6 separate regions of the Homo sapiens genome follow, and regions 1, 2, 3, 4 and 5 are each linked to region 6. Evidence: promoter capture Hi-C in 16 types of primary human blood cells and fetal thymus (Javierre and others, 2016). All regions are on one chromosome and are shown on one strand. The core of a region is centred on a gene start or on the middle of the fragment in contact, and the rest is flanking DNA. Distances in the headings are between cores, read along the strand shown.

What was found. The method cuts DNA at HindIII sites, captures the fragments that hold promoters and counts their contacts. A CHiCAGO score of 5 or more calls a contact.
Region 1: a contact is called between a fragment that was not itself captured here and the fragment with the promoter of MMGT1 in region 6, in 1 of 17 cell types (naive CD4 T cells). The highest score is 5.1, in naive CD4 T cells.
Region 2: a contact is called between a fragment that was not itself captured here and the fragment with the promoter of MMGT1 in region 6, in 1 of 17 cell types (non-activated CD4 T cells). The highest score is 5.6, in non-activated CD4 T cells.
Region 3: a contact is called between a fragment that was not itself captured here and the fragment with the promoter of MMGT1 in region 6, in 1 of 17 cell types (neutrophils). The highest score is 5.4, in neutrophils.
Region 4: a contact is called between the fragment with the promoter of ARHGEF6 here and the fragment with the promoter of MMGT1 in region 6, in 5 of 17 cell types (fetal thymus, total CD4 T cells, M2 macrophages and 2 more). The highest score is 10.9, in fetal thymus.
Region 5: the fragment with the promoter of HTATSF1 here is called in contact with the fragment with the promoter of MMGT1 in region 6 in 12 of 17 cell types (total B cells, monocytes, naive B cells and 9 more); the score reaches 16.2 in total B cells.

Annotation. Positions count from the first base shown.
Region 1 is chrX:136,675,547-136,680,308 of GRCh38, reverse strand. It overlaps ARHGEF6 (Rac/Cdc42 guanine nucleotide exchange factor 6), which reads left to right. Exons shown (of 22, transcript NM_004840.3): 16 at 649-774; 17 at 2,353-2,373; 18 at 3,592-3,685. Among named protein-coding and RNA genes, the nearest start is that of CD40LG, 30 kb to the right of the region's middle. The HindIII fragment of the contact is 1,387 bases long and covers 2,447-3,833 here.
Region 2 is chrX:136,582,349-136,587,277 of GRCh38, reverse strand. It overlaps the pseudogene RNU6-320P. Among named protein-coding and RNA genes, the nearest start is that of MIR934, 34 kb to the right of the region's middle. RefSeq lists enhancers at 586-655, 746-875. The HindIII fragment of the contact is 1,696 bases long and covers 2,187-3,882 here.
Region 3 is chrX:135,348,394-135,353,009 of GRCh38, reverse strand. ZNF449 (zinc finger protein 449) reads right to left here. Exons shown (of 5, transcript NM_152695.6): 3 at 3,696-3,900. Among named protein-coding and RNA genes, the nearest start is that of ZNF449, 5.9 kb to the right of the region's middle. The HindIII fragment of the contact is 1,274 bases long and covers 1,394-2,667 here.
Region 4 is chrX:136,778,539-136,783,213 of GRCh38, reverse strand. It overlaps ARHGEF6 (Rac/Cdc42 guanine nucleotide exchange factor 6), which reads left to right and starts at 2,282. Exons shown (of 22, transcript NM_004840.3): 1 at 2,282-2,496; 2 at 3,717-3,800. The coding sequence starts at 2,332. RefSeq lists an enhancer at 3,627-3,846. The HindIII fragment of the contact is 10,728 bases long and covers 1-2,767 here.
Region 5 is chrX:136,495,838-136,500,468 of GRCh38, reverse strand. It overlaps HTATSF1 (HIV-1 Tat specific factor 1), which reads right to left and starts at 2,877. Exons shown (of 9, transcript NM_014500.5): 1 at 2,599-2,877; 2 at 691-871; 3 at 264-311. The coding sequence starts at 2,784. RefSeq lists a silencer at 2,867-3,536. The HindIII fragment of the contact is 10,358 bases long and covers 1-4,631 here.
Region 6 is chrX:135,971,435-135,976,536 of GRCh38, reverse strand. MMGT1 (membrane magnesium transporter 1) reads left to right here and starts at 2,549. Exons shown (of 4, transcript NM_173470.3): 1 at 2,549-2,940. The coding sequence starts at 2,862. It also overlaps a transcript of SLC9A6 not described here. RefSeq lists a silencer at 2,351-2,460 and an enhancer at 2,471-3,000. The HindIII fragment of the contact is 2,640 bases long and covers 1,266-3,905 here.

The sequences.
Region 1 (4,762 bases), core at 1,891-4,390, 700 kb before region 6:
GTAACCTTCTTCAAAGGTAAACTTTTAGCATTATCTCCTTCTGAGTTATCACAAATTTAGACATTGGAATTTGAATTGATGAGATTTTACTGTACTTGCTGAGTGAGATGGAAGATATGCTGTGTTGTTTGTTAACATACAAACCTATGATGCCAAAATTCCAGTTTTGAGGACTGTGTGTTGTGGTTGGAAGAATATGGACTTTGGCTTCAGATCTGGGTTCAAATCTTGGCTTTGCCAATTACTAGTTAGTTGCTTCCCTTGACTGAGTCTATGTCTTAGGCTGTTCTCATGAAATAACCTATTTAAGCACCTACTAGAGTGCCAAACATATCACTGAACTCAAATGTTGACTGCTACTCCATTTTCCTTCCTTACAGAGGAAAGAAAATTAAATTAATTAAATTCCAGATGAGAAAGAGAGGACAGGATCATGGAATGTTGAGTCAATTTTGTGCTGTTTCTTAGAGACCCGATAATCTGGACTGGAAAGAACCAGTTCTCAAACTAGAGACTTTTGTTTTTCCATCTATCCCTTTCTATGGCTGTCTTTGCTAATCCAATGAAGCTATTGTTGTTCTCTCACTGTGTGGCACAAGGTCGGGTTCAGATGGCAGATTGCCAACATCTCATCAGACATTTTCCCAGTCTTTTAGCTCTACCGGACAGCCCCGAGGACCCTTGGAGCCTCCTCAAATTATAAAACCGTGGAGTTTAAGTTGTCTACGACCTGCACCTCCACTTAGACCATCAGCAGCACTAGGTTATAAAGAGGTAATTTTGCTACCTATGGTATAAAATGCTTCTGACAAGTTAATTTCGTAGCTTATTACAAATAGTTCTGTGGGAATGTGCTAGAATTTAAGATAGATGGTATTATGTGAGTCAGTCTTGAATTGCCAGACTCAGTGATTTGTTTGATTTCTTAATTTTCCATTTCCCATTGTCCATCTGCAAATATGTACTGAATATCTACAGGATCTATGTGCACTGCCTGAGTGTTCCCAGTCTCCTCCTGAAGTGCCTCTGGTTTACCTTAATGATTATTATGATAATCCTTTAGATTTGTTAATAATGTACACAAATCTCAAACAAGAGCCACTTCATTGTAGTTGAGTTGCCAATGAAGCAGACTTAATTCAGCATTTGGGATCATTTTGATCAATTTGAACCAAATTAGTAAAGTGTTATGGGACCAAGCTATGAGTCCAAACTATAAAAGTGATATTTGCTGCAATTGGAATGAGAAAAGAATTTGATGAAAGCAGTGTCTTTTAAAAAGAGGCTTCTCAGAGACAACCTTAAAGGCCATTTGATATTTGGGTAGTGTGGGGATTTAAAGGTTTTGTGTATTTTTTTTTTCTCTCAAAGTTGCAGTCAGGAAGTGTCACTCACTAGCTTCTGTAACTGTGTGGAGTATTACTTTTCCATCCAAACAGTGGCTTTATCCCTAACCTGTCTCAAATCATTTCAGATTTCAGAAATGATGCTCATTTATTAGTAACTGTTCTTTAAATTGGTCTTGTTGAGTGAAGATTAAGTTTGTGACAGTTATGAGATGAGTCTTAGAATTATGGGGCAAAGGTGGCTTATATTTCTATATCAAACGTGTGTTTTGATGAGTGATGCAGACTTAGCTCAATTTTGAGTGTTTTGATTGAAACCACCATGCTTTTGTTTCGATTAATTGTTGCTACCAACTCTAAGTGCAGTAAAAATAGGACAATATTTGGACACTGGAGGATTTTTTGATCCTTTCAACTTGACATGATAGGACAAACAACCCTCGAACTGAATCTTTGTTATATAACTCTATTTAGAATTTGGTCAGGAAGCAGTCCCACAGATTTGCTTTGGAAATTTACGTGCAATTCTTGCAATCATCCAATTTTCTTCTTTGATTATGTAAACCAGGAGTGCCACTTGATAGTTACCTAGGCCCCCTTTTTAATGATGGATATTTTGTAATTATCAGTTACTAAGTTCAAATTAAGGGTGAGCTTTGAAGAGTAAAGTTGACTTAATCCTTCACAAAACTAATCTATTAAAACTAAGGCATGATCACTTTGTTTCTGCTGGGGGAAGAGAGTTATTAATATATTCCTACTAGATAGTATGTATTTCAGTTGTTTTCAGCATTTGTTATTCTGCACAGAACTGTATTCCTCGGGCTTTTGCATGATAATATTGCATCTGAAACTAATGTGGGAAATGTGATTATATTCCCTCTGTGTAATTTATGATAACACTAACATTTCAAATGTTGTTTTAGAATTATTGATAAGTGGATTTGGTCATTATAACCATCGACCTCTCACGCTCATCTTCTCTTTCTTTACATATTCATTTTAGAGGATGTCTTATATCTTAAAGGTAAGGGTAGTACAATATCTTTGGCTTACAGTGACATCATAATGCTGTACTGTAACCTTTGATGAATGAAGCTTTCCCTTATGCTTGTTTTGTCCCTTGTTATAATTGGTGGCTAAAATATGAAGATGCAATTTTGACATGTAAGTACTTTGTTCAAAAAGCAGGCTTGTGTGAAATACATATAAAAATGTCATAATGCCCTAAAATGCCCATTTTCCTGTGTTTTTTTTTAAATTCTGTTTTTTCCTGTTATTTTTGTCATGTGAGAGTTTTTCATATCTGTCTTGTTTTCAAGTGTAAGTACTGTGGCTAAGTGAAATAAATTAAATGATTTGTTTCCTATATTTTTAAGGTACTATTAATAATTAATATCCATGCTCCATGTATACACATTTCTTGGAAAATTGGGATTAGGTGATCATGAGAGTTTTTTCCTAAGTCTAAGGTTGTAATCTGTTTACAGATTATTGGATTAAGGATTAAGGATATTGACAATGAGTATTTTTTTGACCTGCTGGTTACTCATATGGCAAAAACAAATTCAATACATTTATTTTGTCTACTAGTTAAATACATGGCTTTATATATGGATAGTTAAGTTTGGCTGTGGGTGTGTTACTTCTAACCCAAAATTATTTTTTAGGAAATCCTTCATTTGGTTCTTCTCTTTGACTGCGGAAAAATGGCTTAGTCTCTCTGCCTTAATTTTTCTGTCTCACAAATGGAAATTATATTCTTATTTGTGGGACTGTTTCTAAGGCAGAATTATTTAAATAGCTTTGAAGCTCTTTGAAAAGTGATCATTACTACATTAGTGGTTACAGTGGTTATTTAGTTCCCCTAAAACTGTATCAGTGGGGAACGTAAACCAAATTAGGAATACTGTTACGTTTTTAGGGTTGACATCCCTTACTTTCTCTGCAGATGGTTCCCTAAAGCCATTTGGCCTCCTGGAGAATCTGCCACATCTTCAGTAGGCACACTCCACTCTTAGTCCCACCTCTGTGCAAGTTGAGAGGATAATGTCATTGCCTCTGTTTTATTTAACCTTTTAGAGTTTATTGGAACCATTTTAATTGTGCATAGAATTAAACATTGATGTACTCCTAACTGAGACTGTCAAAATAAGAGAGAGGAATTCTACTTAGTTTCATTCATGCTTTTACTTTTGTTTTTGAGGGAGAATTTTAATTCATTAAGAAACCTCTGTCCTCACAGGAGTCTAGTAAAAGCCCTAAAACGATGAAGAAATTTCTTCATAAAAGGAAGACTGAGAGAAAACCATCGGAGGAGGAATATGTGATTAGGAAAAGTATGTGTTTTGTACTTTCTGAAAGTTGTTTATGGATAAATTAACATGAGAATCTTCTTTTATGTGAGGATTTATTTGAAAGCAGATGATTGGAGCAATTTTTTCTTGACATCGTCTTTTACATATAAAGAAGAATGCATGGAAAGCTTTGGTCACTTCTTAAACATTTGAATAAGCTTCTTACGGCTGCACTTCATGTCATCTTAGGCAGATGTCATCTGTATCATTTTTGTGTTGAGTATTTTGCCTCACCTGGTTTAGAACCTCTAAAGGGACCCATTTCCTATGGATACATTTTTTCCCTCTTAGTTTCTGATACTTGAGATATTTTTCTGCAGGGAGATAGACTAAATAGACCCGAAGGCTGAAGTCCTTCCAGAAGTCCCATGCTCAGTGATGCTCTCAGTTACTCAGGGAATCAGCCTGCCCACATCTAGAAACATAGTTTCATTTGGAGACAGACTGCAAAGTCAGTCAGCCAGTCGATATGGACATATTTGGCTATAAGGCTGTGAACAAGGTACTTTGGGACACAAGGTACTTTGGGACACATGTGAAGGAGTAAGTGATGTCTCACAAAGAGGTGACAGAATTGTGTGTATCAGCTGGGAATATAGTTTGGATAAATATTTGCTCCACTTCAGCTTTGGCATGCCCCACCCCCCACCCCACACCTGGTTATGCACACTGGCGTGTTCACAGGGTGCTGCCATCCAGCCATTGCAAGAATGAGTTTGGAGTAGAGGAGAAGGGAGAAGGGAAAATGAGTGACTATGCTGACTGGTTAGAAAATTGGGTGGGGTTGGCCGGGCACGGTGGCTCATGCCTGTAATCCCAGCACTTTGGGAGGCTGAGGCGGGCAGATCACAAGGTCAGGAGATCGAGACCATCCTGGCTAACATGGTGAAACCTCGTCTCTACTAAAAAAAATACAAAAAAAATTAGCCGGGTGTGGTGGCGGGTGCCTGTAGTCCCAACAACTCGGGAGGCTGAGGCAGGAGAATGGCGTGAACCCGGGAGGCGGAGCTTGCAGTGAGCCGAGATCGCGCCACTGCACTCCAGCCTGGGCAAGAGTGT
Region 2 (4,929 bases), core at 1,785-4,284, 610 kb before region 6:
GTGTGAAGCCTTTCACAACACTTTCCCATGTTCTCCTACCATGGGCTATAATCCCACAGCCATGGGGCCCACTGGATTTACTGTAATCTATTTGCTAGAATGTCTCCAGGTGTGCTAATAAATGTTTAATAACTGATTTTATGAAAGGAAAAAAGAAAACATTCCAAGTTTATAGTGATTGCCAATTTCCACTGTGTAAATATTCCCACCATGACCAATTTCAAGCTACCGACGTGAGGCTACACATTGATTTGGGTAGAAATGCCCAGTAGTACAGCATTATACAGCATTTCCATCAGACTGCTACAATAGCTATAGATCACCTCAAGAGCATATATAATAAGCAATGGCAGTAAAATAATTAGGAAGTGATACATTTTGAGTGTTTCTTACCTTTGTTTGAAATGTATTTTAATTGCAGGCTTATAGAATTTTATTTTTAATAAGTTTGTGTTTAACGACTGACTGGCAAAAATTTCTAAACATCTATCAACTCTCATGAATCAGTAGCAATGGGCTCCAGTGCATCACTGTTTGTATCTCTGACTAGACTGTGAACTTGAGAACTGGGACTGGGACTGTGCTGCTCATGGCACCTCCAACACCTAACACAGAGGAGGCACTGTGTAATGTTCATTGGCGGCAGCCAGGCATATCCATCCTTTTGTCCTCACTTTAAAAGGAGTTAAGAGAAAGTTCAGTGTGCTGTTTAACCACAAAGGCCACTTGGCAAATGCTCTAGAGGAAGCCATACCAACCTCAGCTAAGAACGAGGTCAGATCTCCGTCATACATAGTACTTTATTGCCAACTTCCTACATGTTAAGCTAGTGTGCCACTCCCTACTGAGAAACAAACAAGGCTCTGCTAAGTGTTTTATCCTTTCCTTGAGGGGTTAGCACCAGCTTACTTCCTAAAGAAGCAAGCCAAGATAGCACAGGTCTGATATTAATGCCAAATTCACACAAAATCCCATGTGGCAAAAGAGAATTCTTGCCTTTCTAAGCCTCAGACACTGACCCAATTATTTTAAGATCCATTGGCATTCACTGAATTCCAGCACAACAGGAGAATTTAACATTTCTCTGCGGTTTCTTAAAATGGTTTTGACTACCCTAGAGCACCAGGCCAGCCACCAGCAGGATAGAATGACAGGAATAGTCACAGTGTGTTAGAGGTCAAATCCCTAAGCCTACCTCTTAACTACTGGTGGAACTCTCTAGAAATGAACTTTTCATAATCATAGCAATGGTTAATATGCCACGAGTGCTATCTACCTCTGTGCCAAGCACCGTGTTAGACCATCCTCATAGACTAATTAATGAGGCCTCACATAAAGTCCTCAAGCAGTGGCACCCTCATTTAAATTGTCAGTTTGCTGGGGCTGTTGCCAATCCAGTAAGGCCGGACTGTAGCTGGGATAAAAAGGTTTCACTTCATTAAGCACCAAAATAATGCCATGGCTCTCTAAGAAATCATACTTGTGGGGAAAAGTCTCCTCTCAGTGACCATTTTTCCTTTTTGCCAATATGATGCCATACAAACTGGCAGATGTGGCTTCCTCAATGGGCATGACGAAGTCACCTTGAATTGCTCCATTGAGAAGCATGGCAAAAAGTGATTCCATGGGCTCAGCTTTGCCCTTGTCTGACATCCGTTCAGAGAGTTAAAATTCGTTGGCTTTTCAGGGCAGTGGGTGACATTACCCATGGTCCTCTACAGATCTTCAATAAGTTGACATTTCAAATCATTTGAATAAATCAAAGTGACAGAGGCACCTTAAGTTGCTGAGTTGGGGAGATGATTATAGAGAGCGAAAGACACATTTTCATTTTATTGCTGATGAGCAAAATAAGTAAAATTTGAAAAGGAAGTGGGATGCCTTGTGGGAGGAACCTTCTCAGGAAGAGGACTGCAAGTGGTACCTCTGTCTTGCCAGTGATAAACTGGTGCAGAAACGTTTCCAAACTATTCATCATGTGCACCCTAAAAACCCGATATGTAGAATCTGCACTATCCCTGAAAACAAGAGAGTCCCTGATTTGGTAAATCTTAACCCTGGAATACAAGCTTTCAGTATCACTTGGAGAAGTGAATCCAGTTTCCCTTAAGTGAAACTTGAGCCTTGGTCCCTCATAGCTATTGACCCTTATCTTCTGCAAAAGACCACTGGTGAAAACACAAGCTTAGTTGCTCTTCTATTTGTGTACAGAAATAGCCTAACTCTGCTTTCAAGCTGCTTTGTTCAAAATGTGCTAAGGATTTGTTGAGTGAATAAAAAAAGCAAGCAAGCAAGCAAACAAACAAAACTTTATTTTTTTTTCTTATTTCTCTAGAAAACTGGTAAACAAACAAACAAAACTTTAAATCAGACTGCAATTTAGGTCAAAAGTTAGAAAATATATTTGCAGTGCCTAATTCAGGAAGGAAGATCTTTTTCATGCTAATCTACTGCTAATTATAAAATAGGTGATAGCAAGCATTGTGAAGAGCTAAAAAGGAGGGGGTGGGGGCAGTGCTACTTCATAATTTAGTCACCCTTGATTGGAAAGTGGGCGTTTTAAGATTTGACACCAAACCCCAGCGAGTTACTCTGTAGCATGAGTTTCTCTCACTTCGGACTTTCAGTTTGGACACAGAAAGAACAGGGCAAAAAGTAAAGCCAGAAGGGATGATTTTTAAATGGCAAACTGCAAATAAGGATAGGTTTCAGGCTCCGTTGCAAATAGAGGTGGAATAATGAGAATAAGCTCTGTAAGGCCTGAAGGGAAGGAAACACATGGAGGTGGTCAGCTCCGTGCCCAACAAAATGCCCTTGAAGAAGCCTTTATGATCCTGGGTATAAGAAGAAGGTGGGGGGGAGCACTAAACCATTCTAAGACGAAGTTGTAACATTGACAATGTTGACTCCCTAGAACCAAGTCAGGGGAAGTATGTTTGGAGTCTAAGAAGCACAGTCATGTGTTGCATAATGATGAGGGTACATTCTGAAAAATGTGTCATTAGGTGATTTTGTTGTGTGAACAGCACAGAGTGCACTTACACAAACATAGGTGGTATAGCCTACTACACACCCAGGCTATATGGTGTGGCCTATTGCTCCTAGGCTACGAACCTGAACAGCATGTTGCTATGTTGAATACTGTAGGCAATGGGAACACAATGGTAAGTATTTATGTATCGAACATATCTAAATATAGAAAAGGCACAGTAAAAATACAGTATAAAAGATTTAAAAAATTATACACCTGTATAAGGCGCTTACCACGAATGGAGCTTGCAATAGTAGAAGTTGCTCTGGTTGAGTCAGTGAGTGGGTGGTGAGTAAATGTGAAGGTCTAGGACATCACTCCATGCTACTGTAGACTTTACAAACACTGTACACTTAGGCTACACTACATTTATAAAAAATATTTTTTCTTGGCTGGACATGGTGGCTCACTCCTGTAATCCCAACACTTTGGGAGGCTGAGGTGGATGGATCGCTTAAGTTCAGGAGTTTCAGACCAGCTTGGGCAACATGGCAATACATCATCTCTACAAAAAATTTAAAAATTAGCTGTGTGTGGAGGCACACACCTGTAGTCCCAGCAACTTGAGAGGCTGAGGTGGGAGGACCACTTGAGACCAGGAGTTCAAGGCTACAATGAGCCATGATTGCATCATTGCACTCCAGTTTGGGTGACAGAGCAAGACTCCATCTCAAAAAATACATAATTTTTTTCTTTCTTCAATAACTAATTAACCTTAGCTTACTATAATTTTTTCACTTTATAAACCTTAAATTTTTTTACCTGTTTTACTGTTTTGTAATAACACTTAAACACAAATTGTACAGCTGTACAAAAATATTTTCATCATGTATATCCTTATTCTCTAAGCTTATCTACTTTAAAACTTTTACTTTTTATTATTTTTACTTATTTTTAGTTTTTTTTAATGGAACGCATCACAATTTGTGTGTCATTCTTGCACAGGAGCCATGTTACTATTCTCTGTATCACTCCAGTTTTAGTACATGGGCTGCCAAAGCAAGCGCAGTTTTGAGACTTTTTTGTTAGACTCTAAGACCAAACACACACATTAGCCTAGGCCTACACAGGGTCAGGATCATCAGTATCATGGTCTTCCATCTCCACATCTTGTTCCCCTCTGGAAGGTCTTTAGGGACAGTAACATTCACGAAGCTGTCATCTCCTACGCTAACAATTTTTTCTTCTGGAATACTTCCTGAAGGACCTGCCTGAGCTTGTTTTACACTTAACTGTTTTTTTTAATAAGTAGAAGGAGTCCGCTTGAAAATAATGATAAAAGGTATGGTATAGTAAATATCTAAACCAGTAACATAGTTGTTTATTGTCATTATCAAGTATATGTTCTATACATAGTTGTATTGCTAGTCTTTTATATGACTGGCAGAGCAATAGCTTGTTAACACTAGTGTCACAAACATGAGTAATGCATTGCATTGCATTATGGTGTTAGGGCTGCAACGTTACTATGACTACAATGCCACTAGGCAATAGGAAATTTTTAATTCCATTGTAATCTTATAGGACCACCACTGTACATGTGGTCCTGTGATTGAGCAAAACATCGTTATGGGGCACATGACTGTAGCTTTTGGGCAAGTGGGTCTCAATCCTGCCTGCATATTAGAATCACCTGGAGAGCTTATAAAACTTTTGCTGTCTGGGCTGCCGTCTGAACTAATTAAATCAGAATATTTGGGTGTGAGACCCCAAATTGGTATTTTTATTTATTTACTTTCAAAATTAGGTAATTCGATTGATTGATTTACCTACTTATAGCTGTCAGTATTTTCGAAACATTCGAAACACACAGTATTTCAATGTGCAGTCAAGGTTGAGAACCATGAATTAAACAGCAACAAAGCAGAGTTGTAAAAAGGACTCTAATGTGTGTTTAG
Region 3 (4,616 bases), core at 781-3,280, 620 kb after region 6:
TAGTAACATGATAAATACTTTTTCCTTTAAGCTGCTAAGTTTCGGGGATAATTAATTGCCCTTCAATAGCTATCCCATGCAAAGAGGGAAAAGCAATTGGAGATTAACAAAGAAGGTGCTTCATTGAATGTTCCCCCCATCCTAAACTCAGGGAATGGCTTCATTAAACCCCATTAGCAAAGACTGTCTCGTAAGAGCTTCACTACACCAAGAAATGTCATTACTATAGTTGGGGGTTAGATATTAGCTTATGGTAAATTTTTTGGTATAGTAGAATAATCTGAAGAAGTTTAAGTTATAAGAATCTTCTGATGCTTTCTAGACAGCATTTGTTTGTCCTGTATTTTACTTTAAATTTTCATCTCTCATATTCTTCATCACCAAAAAGATGTGATCTTTTACATTTCACACACATTCCAAATGAAACCTCATCAATTGAAATGAAAAACCCAAAGCTTTGACAACTCAAAATGCAATCCAGTTTTGGTGTACGAATTTTGAACTCCATATTTTCAAAGATAAGCATGATATATTTTATGTTTTTAAGACTAGCGTCTCCTTGCCTCTTTTCTTTCTGATTGCATACATTCTAATATTATTGCCTATCTCTGGCATCAAAGTGTCCAGCATGAATTCAAATAAGGGATTTTGTTTTAAAGTTTATGTCTTCCTTAGGTCACTTTATATTGTTCACTTAAGTTCTCTTTTATTTTGCAATGAATGTGTATATGTGTTTTCAGTTATATTACATGAAAAAATATATATGCACAATTCATATATACTCAACAACCTAATTTTTTGCTCATAGGAAATAGGTTCCAAACATTAATATAAAATCAATTGACTTCTTCCATTACTTTTGAATTTCTTTTCCACTCAGCTGGCATCTTGTGCTTTCCATTCAGTCCACAATAGAATGTATTTCATGTAATACATCAAATATACTTTTGTTTAAAGTAAAAGTTTAAGTAACCTTTAAATAATAAAATAAGCCTTGCAACATTTTTCAAAGCATAATATATCACTTTAAACGGTGATAAGAAAAGGATAATTTCCTGTCCTCCAATTTGTAATTTTTATCTGTTAAATTAATTAATTCTACCTATCCTTTGTTAAATATACTAGATTTCCATGTGCTTTAGAGAGCAAAATATTAACACCAGATAAATATTGCTACTATGTGGTATTTGTACCTGCAGTGTTGACAAAAGGAGCGAATTAACATGGAGAATCAGAATGCAAATGCAGAAAGAGTTATACTTCAAAATATTACTAGCTAAGTTTTACTACTTGTTCCAGGCATATACACATAAACCCGGTTTTGTTTTTTTTTTTTTTTTTTTTTTTTTTTAGAATTCCTCAATAGACTATGAAATGTAGATGATGTAAAGCTTGGAACATAAATGGCAATATATAGTTCTGCTTTGACCACAATATGCATACTTGTAAAGTTTTCCTCTTTTGTCACTTTTATTTAAAAATATGCTGGAGACCCATAAGCACCTCAAACTCTGTATGTTCAAATCTAAACTCAACTTGACCCACCGAATCTGATCTTCCTCTTTTGTTTGTCATGTCAGTGAATAACATTACCATCTACCCAGTTCAATGGCCAGAAACCTGGATTCCATCCTTACTCCCTTCTTCTCCATCACCCTGACACCCAATCACCAAGCTCTATATTTCACACCTGCTAAGTATCTTTTGAATTACATTTTCACTCCATCATCACCAACATGCCCTTGCTCTAGAACAACATCTTCTCACCTGAATGATGGCAACAACCTCCCAAATGGGGTCCCTGCTTTCAGTAGTATGTATCCATTCCTACTATAGCCAGAATAATCTCCTAAAATGCAAATTTGTGTGTATCATTCTGGTACTGGAGAACCTCAAAATGGTTCCCCACTTCCCTGATAATCAAGTGTGACTTCTCCATGAGGCTGCAAGTTCTTCGTGACCCAGGACCCTGCTTCTCTCTCCAGCCTCTTCTATTGCCACTCCTGCCCCACTGCTCTTCTATGTCCCTTGCACTGCAGCAGGAGGTCTTCTCTCTGCCTTCAGAACGTTGCACATGTTGTTGCTTTTGATCCCAGCCCTCTCCGCTTCCCATGTACACCACTCCACAGGCTCACTTTGATCCATCCTGTAGGTTTTAACCCAGATCCTCCTTCCTCCAGACTTCCCTCTCAGCCAAAAGCTGGTTAGGTGGCCCTCCTCCATGCTCCTGGGCATCCTATTCCTCCCAACATACCATTTACTGTCAGATTTCTGTTACATACAGGACAAAACGTCCTACTAACATATCTGAATTGTCCACTGAACTGTAATCTCCAAGATGACCAGAGCTGCTTTCCAACCTTGTGTGCTACTGAATCCCCAGGGTCTGGCATGGTGTCTGGCTCCTCAAAGGTGCTCGTAGATAGTGTACAAATGAATAAATGATATTAATATGATGTGGAAAGGGGCATGGTTCCTAATCCTGGGTACTGAGCTAGTTATGGATGGATCAGACATTTATATTTTATAACTTGGACAGTTCTTATTTTCATTTTTTATGTGTCTTCTGTGGTCTCAGTATTTAACAGTCTCTTGAACGTGCGAACATGTTGAAACAGTACCTGGGGGAGTCGGGGAGAGGATTCTGGCCACACTCGGGCCAAAGCTTTAATGTGAGGGGTAGAAGAGGTACAGGGAACACTGGGTAAGAAAACCCCAAAGGAGAAGCCGGGTGTAATGGCTCACGCCTGTAATCCCAGCACTTTGAGAGGCCAAGGCAGGCGGATCACCTGAGGTCAGGAGTTAAAGACCTGCCTGGCCAACATGGTGAAACCCCGTCTCTACGTGTGGTAGTGCATGCCTGTGATCCCAGCTACTTGAGAGGCTGAGGCAGGAGAATCACTTGAACCTGGGAGGTGGAGGTTACAGTGCGCCGAGATTGCGCCACTGCACTCCAGCCTGGGCGACAGAGCAGGACTCCCGTCTCAGAAAAAAAAAAAAAAAAAATAGAAAACCCCAAAGGGGAATAAAATATAGGAGCAACTGGACTATGTGATCGTGCTGCCTTTCTCCACTTGGACTTTCTCCTTCTAGAACTAATCCCTGTGGTGTCTGGGCCAGTGATTCTCAAACTTTAGTGTGTGTAGCACTCACCTGCAGAGCTTGCTAAACATGCACCTGTGGTGTTCATGCTGCAAATGGTCTGCTTACTACAGTTTGAAAAACACTGTAATAGGTTTTGATTTAATGAGGTAGATATTTCCTTTAGACTGCAGTAAGTGGTTGATCTTACAGGATCTAAATAGACTATATTACTAAAGTATTAAGTTTGAATAAGGCTCTGATGCCATAAAAGCAACCGAGGCCCTTGGGGCCCACCACATCACAGTTCCTGTTGATTAAAATTGGGCTGAGAAATGAGTCCTTATCCAGAATCCAAACTCCCATAGTTTTCCTGTGTAACATTCTTGATCAAAAGACTCCTTATCAGGGTCATTAGCTTAAAGGGTTCCTAATCCCAGGGTTCTATCCAAAGTGCTTTGTTCCCTACTATTCCCAGAGAGACTTTTTCCTCTTCTTTATCTGAGTGGTCAATTTCCATTGAGTAATTGGTGTTTCTAACCCAACCCCAACCCTTGAGAGTTCCTGAACTCTCAAAACAGAAACAAAAGAAAGGAGAGAAACCCTTGCCTTACCAGGGTCCAGAAAGTTCTGACATTCTCCAGTAGCACCATAGTTCAGCTCCGGTGGCCCTGCCTGTGGGATCCATGCCTCTGCTACTGGGGCCTCCTGGGCAGGTCCCATTACCTGGAGTGCAGGTGACTCTAGGTGCATGGTTGGTGGTATGTGTGCCGTTCCCACTGGTGCCAGTTCTTCCAAGAGCATGTCATGCATATCAACCTGGGGGAAATGCCAGAACCATCACTCTCAAGTCTAGACCAACAGTGCCCAGTAGAATTGTATGAGAATCATGCATGTAATTTTAAATTTTCTAGTGGCCATATGAATAAATTTTTTAAAAAGTAAGGCCAATCTTAATAGTACGTGTTACTTAATCCAGTGCAAACAATCAGGATTTCAACATGTAATCAATATGAACAATTATTAGTGAGATATTTCACCTACTTTTTTCATACCAAGTCTTCTGCATGTGGTGTGTATTTCATACTTACAGCAGATCTCAATTTGTATTGGCCATATTTCAAGGGCTCAAGAGCTGTACATGACTAGTAGTGACTGTATTCAGCAGCAAATGTCTAGACCACATGAAGATAAAATCTTATATAGTAAACAAAACCAAGGAGACAGAGAAAGGAAGGGCAACCACCAACCCAAGTACCCTAGGGAGACAGAAAACTTCAGAAGACTCCTGTTCAGGAGCCCTGAAGCTAACAGCTCCTGCAGAGAACCCCCATAGACAAGACTGGAGTATCCCTGATGCCCATCTGGAAGCTCCTGCTCCCTTTTCCCAAAGATACTGCCCTCTCTCAGTCACGGCACTTCTGAAAAGAGGCTTTACACAGTCATTCTGAATGGCAGACAGTGCCACTGTCCCCATGGGGAGTTTTGGATATGCTGACAGGTGGTGGCTATCAGAATTTAATGGAACATAATTT
Region 4 (4,675 bases), core at 1,033-3,532, 810 kb before region 6:
CACAAAACTTACTCAGGCTTTGTTCTTCATCAGAAGATGTAAGTGATACCTCAATAATACTGCCAGATTTTGTTTGTCTGTAGAGTAAAATTTTGATGAGCAGTTGTGAAAACTGTTCAGATGACATATAAAAATGTGTTTAAGTTCGTCAGATTTGGGAATTTTATTTATCAACAAATGTATTCTGTTTTTATTTCCATTACATAGATTTGGCCATGGGTCAACGTCAATGAAAACTTTTGATTGATTATACTTATTTTGCTTAAGTCACAAGTACATCAAGCAAACCTTGTTATAGAACTATGGACAGACACAATAACATGAATGAGTATGAAAATGATGATGTTGAGTTAAGAAGCCAGAAAAAAGATAGTACCATACTGTGTACTTCCATTTATATAAGATTCTTGAAAATGCAAACTAATCTATAGACACTGAAAATAGATTGGTGGTTGCCTGGCATTTGGAGGCAAAGAGGAAAGAAAGAATTGAAAGGGCACGAGGACAATTTTGGGGGTGATGGAAAGGCTTATCTGGATTGCATTTGTGTGATTGTATCAAAGATGTATGTATATGTCAAAATTCATTAAATCATATATATGCAGTTCCTTATGTGTCAATTACAGCTTAATAAAATGGTAAAAATCATTAACAAGAAAAAATGTTTGTTTTAAGCCATTTAAACCAACCAACAAACAAAAAATCCTTGCTATAATCAGTTACTGTCTATATCAGGGACACCATCTGAATACATTCATTTATTCATTCAGCATTTTTTAACATCTACTGTGTATACCTGGCAGTCTGCTGGTAACACAGTGTTAAATAAAAAAAAACAAGACCCCGAGTTTAGGAAGTTTACATTCTTGTGGAGGAGTCAGATCATCAGATCAACAAGTGATAATAGTAAAGTGTGACAAGTGTCCTGACAGAGCAAGAAAGGGCAGCTTTGAAAATGTTTAGTAGGGTTATCTAAGCTGATTCTTTGGTAGTAGATGCCTGAAGCTGTGTTGAAAAGAATTCTGAGGCTTAGTAGGAAAGAGCTATACATGATCTGATGTCTCCCATGCACGAGGAGAGGTAATCATGGTAAGTGCCACACATTTGCCAACATAGGGTTATACTATTAAAGTTGGCCTTATCATAAATTTCCCAATAGTATGCCTATTTCAAGTGGTTCTGAAAATGTTTGAGAATGATGAAGATCTCTTGTTATAGACAGTTTTTTTTTCAGAGCAGTATTTTAAGTGCAAAGTGTTTTTTTGTTGTTGTTGTTGTTGGGAAAATAAGAATCTTCCATATTGTAGTGTAGACAGAGGACAAGTGCTCTTTTGTTCTCAAACATTCTATTTTTTCAAGTGTATTTTACCCACTTATGTGACTGAGTCTGAGCCTTTGCTAAGGGTACTGCAGCTGGATTATGTAGTGGAACCAGGTCCAGAAAAAGAATTGCTAAAGAATGCAAGTAAACAGGATGTCAGATGTTATCCTTAGCCTATTTCCCTAAACATAGCTTTTTGGCTGCAAAGTAAAATGCCATTCTTCTAGCTTCTGCTTATACACAGTGATGGCTGACAGCAGGCATAATCTTCGTTTGCTTGGCACGTTGTCACCATGCAACTCAACGTGTTTTGCAAGGAATGATCGTGACACACCATCTCTGGGAGATACTATGAGGACATCCGGCTATTTCTTGGAAGAATTTTCTGTCTACCTTCTTTGAGCCCTGTTGTGCCAGCACATCTCCCCATGAGGCTCAGATCTGTCTGACCTAAGAGCCAGTTGGCATCGTCCTCCTAACAGAAGCCAGATTTTCACTGGGGCTAGACTATTTATTGACAGTGTTTTCCCAGACTGGCCCATGAGTGTCTCATTTCCAAGGTCCCCTGAAGTGCTGGCTCACCTCTGTTTCCCAAAGCACTTGCTTGCTTGTCTCTCCTCCCTCCCCAGCATCCTTTTCACTTTCTTCCCTTATAACTTCTTGCACTCTGTGTGCGTGTGTGTGTATGCGTGTGTGCATGTGCGTTTCTTCTTTTTTTTTATCCTAACGAATTTGTTTTGCAGGTTTTGAAAAGGAAAAACCAGCGTTATCCAGGATTGTTAAATTAATTCTTATCTGTTTCCACATCTTGGACCGTGATCTCTGTGGTTTTAAAATCCCATATTTTGAGTGGGTTCCGCTGTTGTTTAAGAAAAGTTGCTTTAAACCTTTGCTCTGCAAGCACCCGAAGAGAACTCATAAAAAGGAAGACAACAGCAGATGCAATCGCGGATGTGGCTTAGTCCTTGCAGCTGCCCCAGAGTGCTGTTTGGAGTGTACCGTCCTCAGTAATGAATCCAGAAGAACAAATCGTGACATGGCTTATATCTTTGGGAGTTTTAGAGTCCCCTAAAAAGACCATCTGTGATCCGGAGGAGTTTTTAAAGTCCTCGCTGAAAAATGGGGTAGTTCTGTGCAAACTGATCAACAGACTCATGCCTGGCTCTGTGGAAAAGGTAAGGGAAATTTGCAGTCTCTTTGGGATTGCTTATCACCAGAGAGCAGCAATCATGTAACTCTTGAGATTTTTCTATTTCCCAGGCCATGGGAATCTCCTACTTTAATATTTTTCTAAGAGTTAGACATTCTTTCTTACTGTTTTTGTAGTTTGAAAATGTAAGAAAATGAAACGTTATTCTTTAGTAATTGGCCCCCAAATTGTAGTATAGGGAAAACCTGTGACACCACTGGCAACAAGGGACAAGGAGAACACTCATATCACAAGCTTGCTCTATCATGGAGATGCATGTTACATCTCCTTGTGTACCGAGGACATGTTTTGAACTTGGGGTACTTATGAGTCTGTGGAAAAATAGAATGATTTATAACAGATCTTGGTGGTGTTTATTGGCAGTTTGATTAAAATCAGTGTAGATTTCCTTTTAGAAAAATCCATTGAAGGAGAGACTATATAGCAACTAGGAAAAAAATAATTCAAAATGTCACATAAAGTTTGTAAAAGCAATAGAAACCAGATATATGTTTCGAATGCAATGTGCGTTCAAAGTGAAACTAACTTTACTCTCTTTAAAACAATTCAAGATTTTTAATAGCTGGAAATCCACGATCACGAGAATAGATAATTTCTAAAGTAGGCACTTTAAGTAAGCTTAAAGGTACAATTTTACATTTACTTTCTTAAGGTCATCATGGACTGTGAGCATAGCACTTTTGCCTTCATGAGCCAGTTTGTATTTTTATTGAGCAAATAAATTTACTTATAATTTCTTAAACTTGAGAAAGAGTGATTAAATAGTGATAAAATGTAAAGAAGTGTGGTCAAATGTAGAGGGGAAATAGAATTTTATTAAATTATCAGGGGGAAGGAGGAGAGAGAGGTACCAGGGATTGCTTCCTTTCTTGAAAGCAAGAACTAAGCTCAAAAAACTGTCTTGGTCTCCCTAATTTGCCATCAGCACACTGGAACAGAAGGCATGAGAGAAAGCTTGTAAGTAGACATGGCTTGCCACTAAAGGTTTGGTGACATTTGAAACAAAGATCGACCGTTTAGATTTTTGCATCACTTCCTTCAGTGGTTATTTCTCTTCCTGGATTGACAGCAGTGTTGCCCCACACCTTAAGAGGCCTGCTTTCTCTAGTTATCAGCAAATGATGAGTATACTTTGCTTGGCATGGGATGACAATCTCCAAGTGACATTTCACTGTGTTCCTCTAGTTTTGTCTGGATCCCCAAACTGAAGCTGACTGCATCAACAACATCAATGACTTCCTGAAAGGATGTGCAACCCTCCAAGTGGAAGTAAGCCTACCCCGGGTGCCTTCCCTGTTGTCATCGTTTTTTTGCTCTGCTAATCAAGATTGGTAGTAAGAGTACTTGTTTATTTTCACTGTCATTGGCCACTGAGTTAAACAGAGGTAGCAGACTGGTGGTCCCCAGTAATGGATTGCTAGTCTGTCTTTTCCAGAAACCAGTTCCAAGCAAAACAAAACAAAATAAAAACTCACACAATAATGCCTTTTATATACAGCATCCAAGCCCTGTAAACAGGCTTCCAGTGACAGAGCTTGTGTGGGTGTGTTCTCCTACTAAGGGGAACCAAAAGTGGGCCACTGACTGTTGGAGAGGGTCACTGTAATCCTCCCAAGTTGAGAAAAGAGGAAAGGCCATTGTTACTCCTTCCCATTAACACTTTAGAACAGAGGCCTTGAAAAGCTGAGAGAACTTGGCTTTGAGGTAGAAATTGTATAGTAAATTTTGTGGCATTATTTTATATTATATGGATCCCTACAGTGTGTATAGGAAGTGTTACTGAAAGGGAGGTGATACTTCCACACGAGCATCAAGTTGCTTAACTTCTCTGTGCTTCAGTATTTTTATCTGTAAAACGGACATGCTAATAGCCAACTCATGGGATTGCTTTAAGAATCAAATAAGGCCGGGCATGATGGCTCATGCCTTTAATCCTAGGCCAAGGCAGAAGGATTGCTATAGCCCAGGAGTTCGAGACCAGCCTGGACAGTATGGTGAAATGGTGACTCTACAAAAAATACAAAAATTAGGCAGGCGTGGTGGCTTGTGCCTGTAGTCCCAGCTACTCGGGAGGCTGAGGTGGGAGGATCGCTTGAACCCAAGAGGTGGTGGAGGTTGCAGTGAGCTGTGATTGCACCACTGCA
Region 5 (4,631 bases), core at 1,628-4,127, 520 kb before region 6:
CTTGAGGGCCTCACTGAATGGGAAGGGACACACTGCTGTAAGTTACATTAACCAGGCCTAAAGGTTGGTATGCAAAGTTACACACTAAATTTCTTGGTTCTGTAATGAACACACATATTCCTTACTAATATAAATGGCTGAACAAAAAATGACACAATGATAAAAAATGGACTCTGGAGAAACTGAAAGCTAAAAATCACTTCGTGAAAAATCTCAAAATTAAGTATTTCCTACCTTAAACCTGTTTAAAAAGTTATACATACCAGACACGTATACATTTGTATTTCTGTCTTCTTCAACATGAAACCATCCTAGAAATCAAAATTAATTAAATAAATAAAACACTTGCAAAAAAAGATAAGAGTCATATTATGGAATCTTGACAAAGCAGCAGTTTCTTGAAACTTCCAGGACGACCTTTCTGTTACTCTTAAAAGACCAAGATAAACTAACTCAAATCACTACCCAGCTTTCAAAAGATTTAAATCTTTTGAGAAATAATTAGTTTTAGAGCCCTATCTGGAAAAAAGATGGCCAGTTTATCTTGATTCTTTATAACTGACACTACCTTAAAGAAAAAACTCACCTTATTCCTTCAAAGCTATTATAATTCTCGAAAAAGCAACTGTACCTATGCACACCCATATTTTTAATTTTTACACTTAAAATTTGTAAGCTAGAACCACTTACCTGACTCAGCCTTTCTTTTTTCTCCCTTCTTTCTGGCATCAGTGGGTTCCGGGGCTTTTTCTTGTGGAGGTTCCTCTGCAGTCCTAGCATGGACATCTTCAACATTTGCGGTAGAACTAGATGCGCCATCGTTAGAGAAGCCATAATTGGCCTGATATGTAGCAATGAAATCTTCAGTAATCTACACAAGCAATTCAACAGACCCGGACAGAGAAATTCAAAATTATTTCCACTCATAAGAAGTTTAAATTGTGTTTTTACAGCATAGTTATACAACTTAACACAAAAGTGTTTCTGTGGATAATAGTTGTAGTTATTAAGGTATAAATGCAAGAATAGTCACCTTCTATAGAAAATTGTGCATACGGTGATAAAAAATAAGACACAAGTACTTAGATGATCAATGCAAAAGTCTGAGATACGATTTAAAGCATTTTAAGTGATGCTGGCACCTTTTCTAGTTGTTTCATTTATTAATTACTACCTCTCTACACTACTTGACTAAGGCTACAAATACATACAACAAAGGAAGAACCAGATAATAAAACAATAAAAACCAACAGTCAATGAATAATCTAACCACAGAATCCAATTTTCTCTTACTGTACAGATGCACCAATATACATGTACAATAAGTACTTAAATATCTGTATGCAGAGAGCACACAGAACAGAACTCTGATTTGGTATATAAAGAATGGGGTTAACAATTGTAAAACTAAATGCTCATTTTAACTTTATCACAAATTAAATGACGTTATATTTTAGTATCAGAACAAATTAAAGACAAATCCAACTCATATCTATCTTCCTCCCCTTTGGGGGAAAAGCGTTATTGCAAAACGAAAGAAATATAGTTATATCATCATACCAATCAATATTAGGCAGGCATGGAATGGGGAAAATGTAAAACCCAAAGTTTGAAGAGGTATGGGCTTCAACAACATAAAAGGATAAAGTCACACATTAATCCATTATCACACCTTTGTTAAAAGTATTCAGAATGCTGAAGAAACCAAATCTGCACTCAAACTAGCACTACCAACACAGAAGTGAAATCGTAAATTTTAACAATCTGGAGGGATTGGAATATATATACAAATACAGAATGGGAAAGAAAAGTTGCAAAAGAATTTTTACAATAGCAGTCCAGTCGCGCAGTGGAGACAGGTTTTGTATCATTGACTTGCAAGTCAATTTGTGTGCTATTAGTGTGCCCTTTCCTGCTCATGAGAGCCAGATTAAAAGGGCACTTTTACCACAAAGTTTACAGAATCAAGTTTAACATTAGTTATTTTACTTCGAAGCTGAAATAAAAATACTTAGCAATTTCCAAGTATTCCAAACAAACATACACAGATTTTCCATCTGTATTCTGTGTATCTCCAGTCTTATTCCTGTGGTTATATGGTTCAAACATATATGCCTAGGGACAAAATTTACTAGGAAAGTAAAGCAAGGTGCAAAGAAAGTTCAATTAGTAAAGCTATATAAACAGCTACTTTAAAAAAGAAATCAAGAAACTGCATTTTGCACATAGTACATAAGCTAAACATCTGAGTTCCTAGGACAAGTGGGGTTGGCTACCAGAAATGGACAGCTACTAAATTTGTTCTTGGTATTTTTCCTCTTTGCAATAAAAAGCAGTCATGTAATAATCAACTGTGACCTTCACAGACAAGATTAATAAAGCATAGAAAAGACTTAAAAATTACATTTAAGACACTACCCTAAAGATTTACGTTCTTTTACACATCGGTGCCCCAACAAACACAACAAAAAGAAGCGTCGCTATTCAAGGGGGCTAGGACCAAGGACCAAGGATCTCAGCAAAGCAAACGTAAAAGGAGTGCCCCGCGAGGCTGGCCAGGCGGCCCGCTCTGCAGTGGCGCCCGTGGCACTCTCCTACCTTGGGGAACCAAGCCTTTTTGTCCAGGTCCCACTCGTAGGGAGTGTCCGTCGGCTGCTGCCCGAGAGAATCGGGTTCTCCGCCGGCATCGGTCTGGGTGTCACCATCCTTGCCGTCTCCGTACAATTCTTGCATTCGCAACTGCTCATCAAACTCATCGTTCCCATCCAAGTTGGTGCCGCTCATGTTTCCTACCTAGCTCAGGAGCAGGGTTCAGAAGAACTAAGAGGCCGAAATGACGCTGGAGCTGAGCAGAGAAAGGGAGGTCAACCGCGCTCTGCTCGCGCCCCGCCGCCCCCCGGCCCGCCTCCCCGCTGCGCCCCAGCAGTCCCCGGGAAATCGCGGCCGCTCGGCGGCTGCACCGCCCCCCTCTCTGCCCGCCCACCGCGCGCGCGCGCTGATGCTGTGAGCTCGGCCGCGCCGCCGCCCACCTGGCTTGCTCCGCCGGGCCTCGGCACCGCCGCTAGGTCCAGGGCGCTGCGGGAGCGCGCAGGCGCGCTGCCGCCGCCGCCACCGCCGCCGCCGCCGACCGGATCTGAGGCGACTGCGGCTCCCTCGGCAACGTCAGGAAATTACTTCTAAACTAAGCCCTGCTCAGGCCGACGCAGCCGCCATTGTCGGCGCGTGGCGACGTCGCGGGTCGCGCCGACACGCCCACTATGGCGTCAAAAAGCGCCGACGCCGGCATGCGGCGCGAGGCCCGGGGAGGCGGGGCGCCGGGGTTGGGGGGACCCGCTGCTGCTGCGCGTCGACGCCCACCGGGGTCGGGTTTGGGGCGGGGCGAGGGCCACTGGGATCCCGCGGCGCCTCAAGGGCCTTGAGCTCCGCGGGGTCCCCGGCGGATCGGCCGGCCCGGGAGGGAAACGGAAGGAAGGCGTGGGAATATTCCCTCGCGGGGGTGGCCGGGCGGGTTTCGCGAGGGCGCCATCTTAGGGGAGTGGGTGGGGCGGACAGGACAAATTTCTCTGGCTTCGAGAAAACGACGCGCCTCCTTCGCCCAAAGGCCCCTCCCCCGCTCAGGAACCGCGTCTTTTACTTGTTTCTTTACGACACCCGGGGATAGACACCGGATCTTGTTCATCTTGGTAGCCTAAACTCCTGGCACCGGCTCTGGTGTCTAATGCGGAATGAGCGAATGAATGAACGAATGAGGGGTAGAAGGGCCAACTTTCTTTTTCTGGTGTCAGCCTTCTCCTTTATCGGTCTCATACCTTCCTCTGGCTGGAGTTCGACTCCGTGGGAAGGATGGAAAGGGCAGCAGTTGCCTGCCTCTTGTACTGCAGATTTCAGTGGCGCTCGAGCTTCGAACTTGAAACTTAAGCATAAATGTAAACATCCCAGTGTAAACACCAGCTTTATTGGCCGGGAAACTCCGCTTCTTTGTCATTCTTTTAGAAAGACACAGCATACTTTTTGTTCTAAACAGAACTTTGTTTTCAGGAATTACACTCATTGCTGAAAAGGAAAAGGTCCATATTTTTAAGTTGGGCAGGTATTTATTGAGCCCCTACTAAGTGCAGGGCACTGCGTGAGGCTCTGGCGACCCAGGAGTTGACAAGACAGGCACAGCTCAGGGGAGACAGAATTAAGATGGTTGGCACCTGACAGATATGAGATGCTGGAGGACAGCAGTTCTCAAACTTTTTGGTTCCAGGTCCTCTTTACACTAAAACATTGAAAACCCCAAAAAACGTTTGTTTGTGGTTTATACTTACCAATATTTCTGCACAAAAATGAAAGCGGCTGTTAAAAAATACTAATTCATTAAAATAATAAGGAACCCATTAGTGTAAACATAAATATCATAACCCGGGCTTGAGGTCCGGGAAAACCTTACCAGAAGAAATTATTTCACTATTCCAGTGACCTTCACTTCTAAACATAGCAGTTGAGTACTACTTCTAGAAAATCCTGGCTCCCCACACACCAGTTGTGTGAATCTATGGTTTCAACGATAACAACAGTTTTTAATAGTTTGGGTTAGTTTTTTTTTAAATTACATTTCTTTTTCATGAAGTTCTCATTCTGGCAGG
Region 6 (5,102 bases), core at 1,300-3,799:
TCCGCCTCCTGGGTTCAAGCGATTCTCCTGCCTCAGCCTCCTGAGTAGCTGGAATTACAGGGGCCCACCACCACGCCCGGCAAATTTTTTGTATTTTTAGTAGAGATGGGGTTTCACCATGTTGGCCAGGCTGGTCTGGAAGAAGGGGTAATTTTACAGGGGATCTGAAAAGGCTAATTTCAATCTGACCATTATTTTAGACAAAACAAAGTTGTAAGATTTTTTTGGTCAACTATCTTTTCTACCTTATTACCTCCCAGGGGCGGAGAAGGAAGCACTTTCCTGTCAACTACAGAGAGATTATCTCCTGGTTCTTCCTGATTGTATAAATAGAACTACATTTGTAAGGAATGCATTATACTGCACTTGACATCCATCAAGTATTGTGTAAAATTCTGGCTTAGAGGTGAAGAAATTGGAAAGGGCCCAGAAAAGAATAATGAACATGACTAAAGGTTTGGAAAATGAGATCCAGGACAAAAATTATATAAGTAAAGTTGAGGAAATATGATTAATTTTAGATGTCTTCTTCTACTTTTTTTTTTTTTTTTTTTTGGTTAGAGAAAGGGTCTCGCTCTGTCACTCAGCCTGTAGTGCAGTGGCATAATCATGGCTCACTGTAGCCTTGAACTCCTGGGATCAAGCAATCCTCCTTCTTTAGCTTCCCAAGTAGCTAGGACTACAAGCATGTGCTACTATGCCCAGCTAATGAGATGTCTTATTTGTTTTTCCAGCTTTGAGGAAGCTCAAGCATATCAGAAAATGTTTACAATCAAAAGGTTGTCAAAATGTGAGAGTACATGCAAGTCCATGGGGATTTTTGAGCCCAATTCAAAAGATTGGAAGGACTCTCTGTAGAGATCCTTTCAAATAGGGATACTGTCCCAATTATTTTCCGGAATTCATTTGTCATTCAACAAGCACTTATTGAATGCTTATCACATGACAGTCAAAGTTTTAGGTACAGAGAAATCTCTGTTCTCTCAGAGCTTACATTCCAGTGGGGAAAGACAGACAGTAAACAGTAACACAACAAACATAAATAGTTAAATTATATAGTATGTTAGAAGGTGATATAAAAAGTAGAACAGAATAAGGGGATCAGGAATAGGAATTTTGCACATTTAAAAGGGGTGGTCAGGATAGGACGCATCTTTGAGCAAAAGCAAATTGATGCAACTAAAACGTAGAATTCTGATTGGGTTAAAGGAAAAGAATGGTGATCATACTTTGCATTTACCTTGTGATATGCAGTTTACAAAGCTTTGCCACTCAGTCAGGGGTCACTGGAGGAACTGGTGCAGAATTTGGAAAAAAAGGATGAATTCCATTTTAGCCATATTACGTTTTAAGTGCCACAGGAAATAAATGCCTATCTGGTAGTCAGAAATGCAGCCCTGGAGCTAAGGAGAGATATTTGTGATAGAGATGTCGATTTGGAATCACTGTAATACCTTTGCTGGCTGAAGCGGTGGGAATGAATGGGTGAGCTCCCCAGGGGACAGCAGAGTGATGAGGTCAAGGGGAGAAGCTCACTATTAAATGTCTACATTTCAGGAGATGAAGACAAAGAAAAATGGGCAGAGGAGTATACATTTTACCCGGATCAGAGATAGAGACAAGGCAAGAAGGCTGCGTTATTAGCATTTTAAAATTTCCTCTTTCATTTCTTCCTTAATGTAAGCTGGTTCTTTTCACGACAAAACACTCCCCCCGCGCTACACCTCTTTTTGCGCGAATCTTTCTCCAGGACCTTAAAATGGTTTACTGAGCACTTCCCGCGAGCCAAGTATTTGGGGTTCCAGATCCTGGGATTTTGTCCTGACACTGCCTCCTCGTTTTAACACCCTTGCCTCCTTCTGCAGTGCCAGTTTCCAGGGAGCTGAAGCACAGGAAAGGCCTACAGAAAACAAAAGGCACAGTTTCACAAAAAGCCAAAACCAACCAACCCACAAAACACAACTGTCAGGGGTCTATATCCAGCACCTACCGCCTTTCCCCAACGCCCCCAGCCCCGCCCCTCGGCCCCACCTCCTCCCGCCCCTCGGCCCCACCTCCTCCCCGCCCCCTCGGTCCCACTCCTCCGCGCCCCCTCGGTCCCACCTCCTCCCCGCCCCTCGGTCCCACCTCCTCCCCGCCCCCTCGGCCCTCACCCACTCTCCGTCCCCTCCGCCCCGCCCCCTACGCCCCACCCATCCTCCCGTAGGCCCCGCCCTCGGCCCCACCTCCTCCCCGCCCCTCGGCCCCACCTCCTCCCCGCCCCTCGGCCCCACCTCCTCCCCGCCCCTCGGCCCCACCCATCCTCCCCGCAGGCCCCGCCACTCGACCGCACCCACCAGGGCCCCCCCCCCCCGGCTACGCCCACCCACCCACCCACTGGCCCCGCCCCTCGGCTACACCCACCCTCGTGCGGGCCCCGCGCGTCTTCCCCACCCCGCCCGTCTGCCTACCCCGCCCCTCGCCCCCACACGTTCTCTACGCAGGCCCCCGTCCCTCTGCCCCACCCTGTTCTCGCCACTGGCCCTGCCCCCATTTGCCGGCGCCCTTCCTCTTCGCTTCCCCGTAGCTCCCGCTTTCGCCTCTTCGTTTATGACTCCGTTGGGCTCCGGCCCTCCTAGAGAGGCCTCCATAGCGCAGGTTCGTGGGTTCTCGCGGACCTTTTTCCGTGTAGCTTTCTGCTTCTTCCCGGCATTCCTGTTTCCGTTTTCTCACAGCCCTCTGGCTTTTCCACCACTGAGACACTTTGCGCTCAGGACTTCAGTGACGTCATCTTTCTGCGGCGCGCGGACACCCGCCGGTGGAAGAAGAAACAGCTCCGCCGTCCTTCGCTTCTTTTGCTGGGCTGCTGCTCCTTCGGCATCATGGCGCCGTCGCTGTGGAAGGGGCTGGTGGGCATCGGTCTCTTTGCCCTAGCCCACGCCGCCTTTTCCGCTGCGCAGCGTAAGTGCCTGGGGCACGGGGACCGCTTCGGTGTGGAACCCTAGGGGCGGTGTGTGGGCGCACTTCTAAGGGACCATCGGACCGAGTGTCAGATTAATGGTCCTTTGAGACCTTACAGTTTGGGGTGACTAAGAAAATCAGTGCAGGAGTTCCCAGTGGAAGGTTCGGAGTTTGAATTTGGAGAGAGTGTGGCACCTGAAATTGCAGGAAGGTTGGAAGGAGGTGTCTGGGAGAGGGTTCAGAATAGGAGTCTCCAGGAATCCAGGACAAGTGATGTCAGATCCAGCATGGGGCAGATCAGGCACAGTTGTGAGATTGAGGACTCTGGTTGCTCATGGTCCCACGACAACCAAGTGGACAACATCTTGGGCACTCTTGGGCTGTCCAGGCAGAGACTGAGTAGTTAAGTGACCGATTGCCTCAGGGAGGCACTGTGGTACAGGAGAAAGAGCACTGGACTGGGAGTCTAAAGGACTGGTTGTTAAAAACTTGCATTACCGCTACATCTGTGTGACGTTGGGCAAAAGATTTGTGCTACACTGCGTTATGAAATTCAGTTTTGGGTCGCTGTTTGAAATTGCGCTGTGTTTAGGTGCTAGAGATACAGTGATGCCCTGAGCCAGTTCAAAGTCTAAAGGAAAACAAGTGGATCAAGAAGTAGTTACAATAAAGTGATATGCTAAAAGTATATAAGGATGCATGGAAGCAGGGACAGTCATATTTTGGGGGAACTGGGAGGTTAAGGAAAGTATCCTAGATCCTTGCTGCTTACAGTGTGATCAACAGACCAGCATCATGAGCACCACCTGGCAGGTAATTAGAAGATACTCAGGCCAGACCTGTTCAATCAGAATCTGGGTTTTAATAAGATCCCAGGGTGATTTGTATGCGCATTAGTTTGAGAAACACTGTCCTGGAAGAGATTAGGATACACTGGAGTACTGTGTCATTTTCTACAGTAAGCTTTAACTGTAGAATTATATGATTGTGGGGCGAGAAGGGCCTTTGGAGTTCACTGAAGTCCAACCCCTTCATTTTACAGATGAGGAAATTCCTGGTTAAAGGTAGTGTTAGAAGCAGGCGAGGCTTCATGCAAACTAGCAAGCTAGCTAGGAATTGAACCAGATAGGAGATTAGTCAAAATCGATTTTTGGTGTTGGTTTGATGTTTCTTTTACACTTGTCTTTATGACAGAGCTGTAGGTTAAAACTTAAGAAATGTCTCTAAACACATTCTTCTTCAAGAGTCAATACACATGCACTCAAAAACAGTTTGAATTATTTAGTCCAAAGTACGTTATTAAATAGGGATTGTCCTAGGTTCATCTAGAATTAAGATTTTTGTATTTTATGTTTTGGGTGATGAGAATGCCTTGTGGATTTGCCACTGCAGTGAGACCTCTTTATATATAATGCTCATGTTAGGGAGAGAGTAATATGTAACTTTAAGACTAAGTGTGTCATGTCAGACTGTAGCAGCAGATAGCACAATGTGGTGCTGTGGCATGCTCATCTTTGCTGTAATGAACTTTGTTACAGTAGGGCACCAGTCATTTACTGTATCTTGTTTAATCCTCACCTCACATTATTCTCATTTTACTGTTGTGGAAATTCAGGTAATGAAAAAAATAGATACTGTATTTCTTTGATTCTAAGACACCCACCATTTTAACACTCTGAACTTGAGATATGTATTATGATCACTGCGGGCTTCTTTAATTAAATGAAATTATAGTAAATTGAAGAGCTGGCACTGATTTAGGCTTACCAGTTTCCAAATCCTGATCCTTTTCTTTTATCCCTTGCTGCCTCCTGAGGTTAAGGCAGCAGCAGCGGAATTATAATTAACTAGTAGAGGCAGAAATTGATTTCATGGAATTCCTATTCCACCACTGCCCCAGCGTATCCTCTCAGGAGAACCATTTCCATACCAGTATTATTTTGTCCATACTGTGTGGTTGGTGGTGGTGCTATTTCAGAGTTGAGATTTTCTGTAGACTTTACTTTTTAAATAATTGTGATTTCTTTGGCGAGTTAGTGAAAGTAACGGTTTTGAGAAGTTTCTAGTATTTCTATAATAATGAAAGAAAAATTATACTAAGGTATTTCTGCCTCATACTTGCTCACTTGTCACTCTTACCCATTTTATAAGGTGACAAAGCA